Regions from separate parts of the Homo sapiens genome. Here all the other regions are linked to region 3. The links are contacts of gene promoters, found by promoter capture Hi-C in blood cells and fetal thymus (Javierre and others, 2016). All regions are on one chromosome and are shown on one strand. The core of a region is centred on a gene start or on the middle of the fragment in contact, and the rest is flanking DNA. Distances in the headings are between cores, read along the strand shown. Region 1 overlaps MYO3B (myosin IIIB). Region 2 overlaps MYO3B (myosin IIIB). Region 3 holds the start of GAD1 (glutamate decarboxylase 1).

The links. The method cuts DNA at HindIII sites, captures the fragments that hold promoters and counts their contacts. A CHiCAGO score of 5 or more calls a contact.
Region 1: a fragment that was not itself captured here is called in contact with the fragment with the promoter of GAD1 in region 3 in 4 of 17 cell types (naive CD4 T cells, total CD4 T cells, non-activated CD4 T cells and 1 more); the score reaches 6.7 in naive CD4 T cells.
Region 2: a contact is called between a fragment that was not itself captured here and the fragment with the promoter of GAD1 in region 3, in 1 of 17 cell types (total CD8 T cells). The highest score is 5.4, in total CD8 T cells.

What each region holds. Positions count from the first base shown.
Region 1 is chr2:170,520,803-170,523,502 of GRCh38, reverse strand. All of the region lies in intron 30 of MYO3B (myosin IIIB), which reads right to left. Among named protein-coding and RNA genes, the nearest start is that of MYO3B-AS1, 170 kb to the right of the region's middle. The HindIII fragment of the contact is 9,195 bases long and covers 1-2,700 here.
Region 2 is chr2:170,540,656-170,543,355 of GRCh38, reverse strand. It overlaps MYO3B (myosin IIIB), which reads right to left. Exons shown (of 35, transcript NM_138995.5): 31 at 390-450. Among named protein-coding and RNA genes, the nearest start is that of LINC01124, 170 kb to the left of the region's middle. The HindIII fragment of the contact is 819 bases long and covers 990-1,808 here.
Region 3 is chr2:170,815,469-170,818,168 of GRCh38, reverse strand. GAD1 (glutamate decarboxylase 1) reads right to left here and starts at 1,282. Exons shown (of 17, transcript NM_000817.3): 1 at 1,121-1,282. It overlaps GAD1-AS1 (GAD1 antisense RNA 1), which reads left to right. Exons shown (of 4, transcript NR_197761.1): 2 at 254-451; 3 at 1,137-1,315; 4 at 1,684-2,700. RefSeq lists an enhancer at 1,131-1,300 and a silencer at 1,388-1,467. The HindIII fragment of the contact is 11,655 bases long and covers 1-2,700 here.

The DNA of each region.
Region 1 (2,700 bases), core at 101-2,600, 290 kb after region 3:
TCTCTTCTTACTCTGCCCACCCCAAACCCCTCCCTACTCCCACCCCACCCTCTGCCCAAAAACTCCTTCCTATCAGCCCTTGTTGATTCACAGAACACTGAGTTGACAAACATAAGGGGGACAACAGAATCCCAGTCCCTGGATCAGGGATACCCTGGCCCACTGTTTGGTAAGTTATTCGGGATCCTCTTATTGTTGCCACTACCCAAAGACTGACAAGAAAAACACTTCCCTCATAAAAATCTGAGTGCTGAGAAGTGGCTTTGAAAGTTAGCTCAATAAACTTATTGAGTAGCTATTGTGTATATCGGATACAAGAAAGAGTAAGACTCAGTCCTCACTGTTGAGAAGCTAACTTGCTAGCACAAGGTCAACCATAACACCAGGCAAAATATGAAGAGCACCAGAGAGATTGAAACACCAAAGTGTGGTGTGAGGACCCAGTCTGTGAACTGTTACTACTCACAATGACATAAGGGGCTAGTGCCAGAATGTAAATCAATTCATCACCAAGTACATTGTTTAGTTCAGCTGATTTTTTTTAGTAACAAGAGTTTCTTAATGAAGAAAGCAGTGAGTTGATTTACATTTGGGCACAAATTCATTATCCTGTTGTGAAAAAGCACTTTGAGTAGTACTGTTACAAAAGGGCTACAGCTCAAGGAGTATTAAAAAGAATTAGGTCTTCATGGAGGAAAGGGATATGATAATGTGTCTTGACCAAAAGGTAAGAGCTGAACAGAAAGGAATGGGCAGAGAGAAGAGAGGAAGGTGCACCGGTAGAACAATAAGAAGTCTGATTCTGGTTAGCCATAAGGTGTATTAGGGACAAGGTGGAGGTGAGCCTGGAGGACAAACTGAAGTGAGCTAGAGAGAGGCGTGGAACAGCAGCCTGAGAAGTCGGAACCTTTTTTGGTCTAAAATAGGAAGCCATTAAAGTTCTTTGAACAAGTCAGAATATGTTGTAAGACAATTGATCAGGTGTGAGAAATGAAAGCTGGACTGTAAAGACAGAAGGAGAAAGAAAAAGAGATAATGGCAGTCCTGGACCAGGAAAGAGTATTTGGAAAATGACTGGAAGTGAGATTAAGTGAGAGGTAGGGGTCAAGAGTGACTGTGCCAGGTTTGAAGGCCAGGTCACAAGACAGTGTTTATGTCAATCATAGAAGTGGGAAGGGTGAGTGGAGGAGGTGCTTTAGGAGGGGCTTTTCTGTTGAAGTCTTGGTGTGTGAATCAGGAATATATGTCCACTGTGAGTTGGGTGTAGGAGTGTGGAGCTCAGAACAGAGACTTGCGACTCGTGCTCACCTAGCAGAGACTTGATACCAGAACACACTGGTGAGAGATGGTATCATCCAGGGTGAGAAGGAGAGAAAGGAGAGAATCTAAGACTTGGAGAATTGCCTTTATTTTAATGGTAAGCGGAAGAGAAGAAGAATGGAACCAGAGAAAACAAAGACTGAGAATACCTCTGAGCAAGCACCTGAAGAAGGCAATACTACAGATACCCTTGGAAGAGGGCTCTTCAAGGAAAGCACGCATGGCCCATGGAACTAAATGCTGCAGAGTCTGATGAACATAAAGCTCTAGCAACTGGGAGCTGTGCTTCCCAAGAATAGTTTTAGGGACATTGTAGGGACACAAATCAGATTTCAGGATTAGGGAGAAAGGGGTTGGTTTAGTGAGGAAATGAGGCAGTGGACCTGGACAGCAGTTGGAGGAAGTCTGGTGGTAAAAGCAAAAAGAAGGAAGGACAGGCCAAGGGCAGGCTTTTTTTTAGTATGGGGGGAGGTATAAGCAAAATGGAAAGTGATAGCAGAGTGTAAAAGATGGGAAAGCAGGGGAGGTGCTACCTGATAGTGGTAGGGCCTGGATGGCAGGAACACTGCACAAGGCAGAGGATCTGGGGTCTGTGAGATGGGAGCAAAGGAAGGAAGGACAGCCGAAGATAAGGAGAGATTCTAAGGTGAAGAGAAGGGCGGTGGAAGAGCTCAGAGCACTGTCCTGGTGTTCTCAGTAAAGTCAGACCTCAGTTGAGATTGAGGAAGTCAGACTGGGGCTGAAGTTGTTTTCCAAACTGGTTCACTGACTTGCCCAAGGTCAAACAGTTGGAAAATGTTAGCTGGGATCAGAAACCAAGTCTTCCAACCAAGCTCAGTGATCTTTCTACCACATTAGAAATTGTAAACTTTGTTATTCTAATATGAGATATTAGGTCTTTTCCTAAAGTGCCCTTAAATGAGCTATTCTGACTTTTTAAGCAAGTAGTCTAAAGTACTTTACTTTAAAAGAAGCCCAATGACAATTTGAGACCACTGGGGGAGTATTAAGAATTTAATTTATCAAGTCTCAAAAATCTTAAGCGATCTCACAAAATAAAATAATAAAAAATAATTAAAATTTTGTTTAAAATTGTAAATTAAGACTTTCTCTTTTCCAGGTGAAAAGATGCAAAGAACTCTCTAATGACCTGCTTCTTTCTTGAAATCTTTGACTAAAACTTTTAAGGAAGTTCCCCATAATCAATGTGGAAGAAAATAAGAAAGGTGAGTTTCATTCTATTAGGCCTTCCCTTTGCCATGGTCCACTCCTTCCTGTAGCTGTGTCCTCCTCCTGGTGACATACATGATGGGTTCTGGAAACCTTATCTGAGAGAAGGCACATTATAAAGGCTTCCGTGAAGAACAGGCCTAGGAGCTG
Region 2 (2,700 bases), core at 150-2,649, 270 kb after region 3:
TCACAGAGAGACGCCTCCATTTCACATATTGAATTCGAGCAGGATATCAAAGTGCTACCAAAGAACCTCGGGTCCTTACTCAAAAAGAGGCTCTAACATCTGTAGAGAGTGGAGTGCACAGACAAATCACCTCAGGGAGCAGCTAACATTTATTCTCAGCAGCAAATTTCCAGGCTTTTGATTCTCTCTCCCCTGTACCTCCCTGTCTCTCTACTGAACCAAAGTTCTTCAGCAAGCTGGGCTTTTGTCTCAAAGACTTCAAAATATCACTAACAGTTTCAAGTTTGGATGGTCCAACCACGCAGCCGCAGACAAGCTTCATGCCTATGAACTTGGATGAGTCTGAAGGAGTGATACACATTTACTTTGGAATCAAGATATCCAGCTACCTTGTTTGCATGTCCTGCGAAGATATCGCACCCTTTTGGAGAACTCTGGGCTTGTGAATGCCTGAAAAGATAACAATAATAATAATTTTAAAAGACTTGAAAATAATAATAGAAAAACTTAGAGAGGACTGTTTTTCTTCAAAGATATATCAAAACATACTTTTTATGCTTCCATGGTTTCCCATTTCAGTCCTTGGTTAAAAGGACATGGTCACCTTAAGAAAATGAGTCCTACTAGGTGTTGCTCCTACATGTTACAGCACATCCACAGTCTGCCTGAATTCCTAAGACCCAAGAAACTGCTCCTTTTAAAGTTGTGTGATTGGCTTTGGTTTAGCGAGCTCTATTGGGCTTCCACAACCTTTACCAAGAAGCCAACTAAATGGATGCTAAGGCTACACTTCCTGCACAGCACATGAATCACATTCACAGTTACAGAACTTAAAATGGATTCCGTAATCAAGTAAGTTTGGGGAATGTTAGGTTGGGCGTAGTTTGAAAGGTTTCCTTACTGCAGGAATAATCTTTTAAAATTACAATATACATTTATGGATCTCTATAGTAAAGATAAAGTTCCAACAGTAATTTGACCAAGAAGCTTAAAGTGATAACCTATTAACATCTAATAAAATCCTAATGCTTCATGGAACAAAGTTTGGAAAAATCAATTGGTCTGGGTCCCCAATTTTTGATAATCAGAACACATTGTATAAGAGTGTACTTATAACACACAGATAAAATAGGAGCCACTCATAATGCCTTTCAGATGGAACCAGCAGAGTGGAAAGCACTGAGTAAAGAAGGGAAATCTGTGTTCTGACCCCTGCCTCACACACACGCACACATGTGACACACATGACACAACAAACATGTGACTTTGGGTAAGTTTCTGTAGTATTCGGGGTCCTAGTTTTCCTCATCTATAAAATGAGGAGATTGAGATAAATTATTCCTAAGGTCTCTTCCAGTTCTATATTAATAATCTTATTCTTTACTTAAGCTGACAAATTCATTTCCGTATATTTATTTGTGGATATTACCTTCAAAATATATATTATAAGCAATATGCCCATTTAAAAATTACCACATCAGTACCTGGAAGGAGGGGACTATAATTCTATATTTATTTGTGTGTATATTTGCTTATCATATGTCTCCCACAATGGAATGTAAGCTACATTAAGTCAGGGACTGGATCTGCTCTATTTCACGCTCTGTGTAAGCACCTACCCAGTGCCTGGTACATAGAAAATGCTCAGTAAATATTGACCATTTGAATAAATAAAACAATGATTAGTCAATCCACAAAATGCGGGGCCATGTAGATCAGTAAGAATACTCTTACTATTAAAATTAAATTAACTATCATTTATATACTACTTCATTTAAAAAAAATGCTTTTAAATATTTAAGAAAGCTTCACAACCATTTGGTCTAAGTACTTTAATTGTATCTATCATACAGATAAACAAAGAGGTTCAGAGAGGTTAAGAGATTTTCCCAGGTATCATGGTAAATACCTGGTAGAGCTAAGGCATTCACCCGTGTTTGTCTGACTCCAAATCCTCTGCTCTTCCTCTGAACCATAATATATTCTATACCCTTCAGTATCTAAGCATTGGCCCAAAGGACTCACTCCTGTCTGGCCTAGGCAAGTCCCAGTAGCTGTGACACACCTATAGGATGGGTGGATTCTAAGATCCTCTAGGAGAAAGTCTAAGAAAGAGAGTTTAGCTGTTGAATTACTGCCAGACCCCTAATTTATGCCTTTCCTGACCCCTCAAAAAATGAACCTCTTGACAACTCCTCTAGCTTGTGTGGCTTTTCAGAATCCAAAGCCAATGGCAGACACCTCCCAACTCTCCACAGGGAGTCAGCTTATCTGTTTGATTCCCTCTTCATTCAAGCCTTTGGAAGAATCGAAGGCAGCTCAATGTAATGTTTGTGTGTGTTTAAGAAAAGTCAGCGGCAGAGGTCAGGGAGTAGTGTCTACAGGCAAATAAATTAGAAAATACTAGATTAGCCTACAAGCCAGGTTTCTTTCCCGAGAGGCTTTCCGGCAACTTTAATTTAATAATATGTTCAATGAGACTCCAAGAAAGGAAAAGAATTGGAAACATCTTCTAGACATTATTTTAACAATGGACCCTTCTCCTCTGTACCATGTTGAGGCACTACTGATTCTTAGAACACACCTTGCTTTTAAGAAGATGGTACAAGTCAGTTTTCTTAAAAAATCTAACTTCCTCAACTCCTTTATAGAGTTGTTGTTGTTGTTGTTGCTGTTTTTTTGTTTTTTTTGTTGTTTTTT
Region 3 (2,700 bases), core at 33-2,532:
AGCGCTCAGTGAGCGATTTTCCAGCCGAGCCGCTACAAGCCCCATTGGGCACTCAGCAGCCGGCGTGTGGGCCAGCGGGGGGAGGGCGCACGGGGCGGGCATGTCTGGTTCGGTGTCTGGTTCCCGTTGTTGTGTCTGGCTAATTCCCTGGAAAGAAAGAGGCTAACTGCTCCGGGGACTAGGGACTTTGGTGAGACAAGGTGAGAGGGGGAAAAAGGCCCATATCTTTACGTTCTCCCTCGGACTTGGCCAGAGAAGAACCACAGTCACCTTGCACTCCAGACAGCCAGAAAGCAGCGAGTCGGAATGTTGCTTGCCTCCCTCTTATCCCAGCCGGTTTTTAGCCATCGCTAAGCCTAGGGCGAGGTTTCGGTCCGGTTTCAGCGTTTCTCCTCTACCTAGCCCCCTGAGGACCCCAGATTTCTCGCGGTACAGATCCAGAGAGGGTGGGGTAAGTAAGCATGGGGAACGTCACCGGGGAAACGAACTTGCGCGCAGCGCGCAGGAGGCGGCGGACAAAGATCTTGCGCGGCGCCCCTGCTCGACTCTCGGCGCTGGCGCGATGGCGCCCGAAGGCCCCGGGACAGAGAGATTGCGGGCTAATCTGGGTAGATCGAGGACCCCACAGAGAAGGGCCCACCGGCCATCGCCTCCACACCCTCCCTCCGACCTCACTCCTAGCCCCGCGCGCGCAGTCGCACAGCAACTCGGGCAGCGGGTCGACTACGGCCCCTGGAAAAGTAACAGGTTACCGTTCCTAGTAGCGCCTTCGGCTGCTGCTGCCCAGGCGCCCTTTGGAGGGACAGGCGCTCGCAGCATGGAAGCTCAAGGGAAAATCGCTCTTGCCCCACTTCAACTAGAGCCTCAGCCTCCGTGCTTCCCCGGGGCGTGAATCCGGAGGGCAGGGATAAGAAGAGTGACGAGGGAGGCGGGGGGGGGGGGGTCCCTGCGCAGCGCACCCGTGGAGAGCAGGGACTAGGGCGGGCAGGAAGCACTCATTTCGGGAGGTTGGGTGGCCGGCGCTGGGATGGGGTTGGTTGAGAAGCCGCGGGAGGAGAGGACCTGGCTGAAAAGCCACGGTTGGGCGCTGGGAAGTCCAGGTGGTCGCTAGCTTACCCACCTCGGCTCTGCGACAGCGAGCCGGGCACTCCCGCCTTTCCTCTGCACAGCGCCCAGCGATCCGCTCGGCTCGGCCCTGACAGGCGTAATCTGCCCGGCGTCACCTCCAGCTGCTTCCTCGTTCTCGCTAGTTCCCTCTCGCACGCGAGCGCCAGGAGAAGAGAGAGATTCGGAGAGGCGGCTGCACGGCTCCGGGGTAGGCGGGGGCAGAGTGGGGAGGCGGGGACCGGATCGGCGGGGAAATCACGAGGCCGTTGCTCGCGGGGGCAGCTAGTCGGCGGAGCGGCGGGGCTCCTCTGCAGGTGCCTGACCGCCTCTGGAGCTTTATAGGGCGATTATAAATCCAGCTCACGGTTTTGCGCCCGGAAGGAAAAAAAAAAGGTCTTATGAGTAATCCAGAACGTACTCAACACGCTTTTTTTTTTTCCTTTGGAAATAGGCAGGCTGTCGGGTGAGAGGAGGGAAAAGATAATTCCTACGAAGAATTCTGCCTTTCTGAGCGTTTCTTCTTCCCTCCCCTCCTTTCCCCTCTCCCATTTCCCCTCCCCCTCCCATATATTGTAGGAGACGAGCGGCGGTTTTGCCTCAGTGCTTTTCCCCGGGGTTCCCCCAGATCTGTGACCCTGCGACGCTTCCTTGAGCGAAAGCGCGCTTTGGGTCGTGTCCTCGTTGGCTCTCTACGGAGCTGGGATTGTTGTAACCGCAAAGGAGGCAGAAATGAGGGGAGACCTCTTAGACCATGGAGGAATTACAGTTTCCTCATCCAGCCCTGGGCCCCATCAAAGTACCACACCTGGCCACAGCTACCCAGTGCCACCGGCAGAGAAAAGGACCCCGCGTCCCTTTTGCTATGCGCTCGCTCCTCGCTTTGGCCCCCTTGGTGATGGGAAAAGAAGGCCTCCTGATTAATCACGTTTGAAGGTTGATGACACGCACGAGCGCCGCTGCACGCGCATGGGGCACCCGAGCACAGAGGTGCCCGGAAGGGGCGGACCAGCCCCCCTTGCCCTGGCCCGCTCCCCCTTCGATTTCACGCGCTTTAAGGATTCTCCCTTTGCAATATTTAGGCGTAGTTAAAAGAACCGCTGCGTTGGGAGAAGCCCCTCGCCGTAAAAATGCGTTGAAAGAGAAATTCCCACCAGAGGGCGCCAAGAGCCCAGAGACGGAGAGGCCCTGCGCTCCCGGGTCTCTCCGCCAGCGCCCGAGCGGAGCCCACACCTGGAGCTGCTGGCCAGACGGTTACGCGCCGGCTTGCCTCTTCATGCCTTCCCTCACCGCCCTGTCACTAGTTTAAGTTCTCCCCTTTCTTCTCCCCCAGTTTTTTTCTTTAGGGCAAAAATGTTGATGTCTGTGCGTGTCTGGGTGACACCGTGTAGGCAGTGATTCCTTTACTGGTATTTACCGTGGTCCTCCCCCTCTCCCCAGGTGGTGCAGCACGCAGGGGTTATTTATGCGCACGTCTGGGGCCTCACTGGTTCAGCGGAGGCCCGTCCGTTTTCTTTGAATGCCTTATCGCCTTTCACCACAACACAATGGAAACACACACAAAAATATTATAAATTACCGAGAGTTCCATAAGGG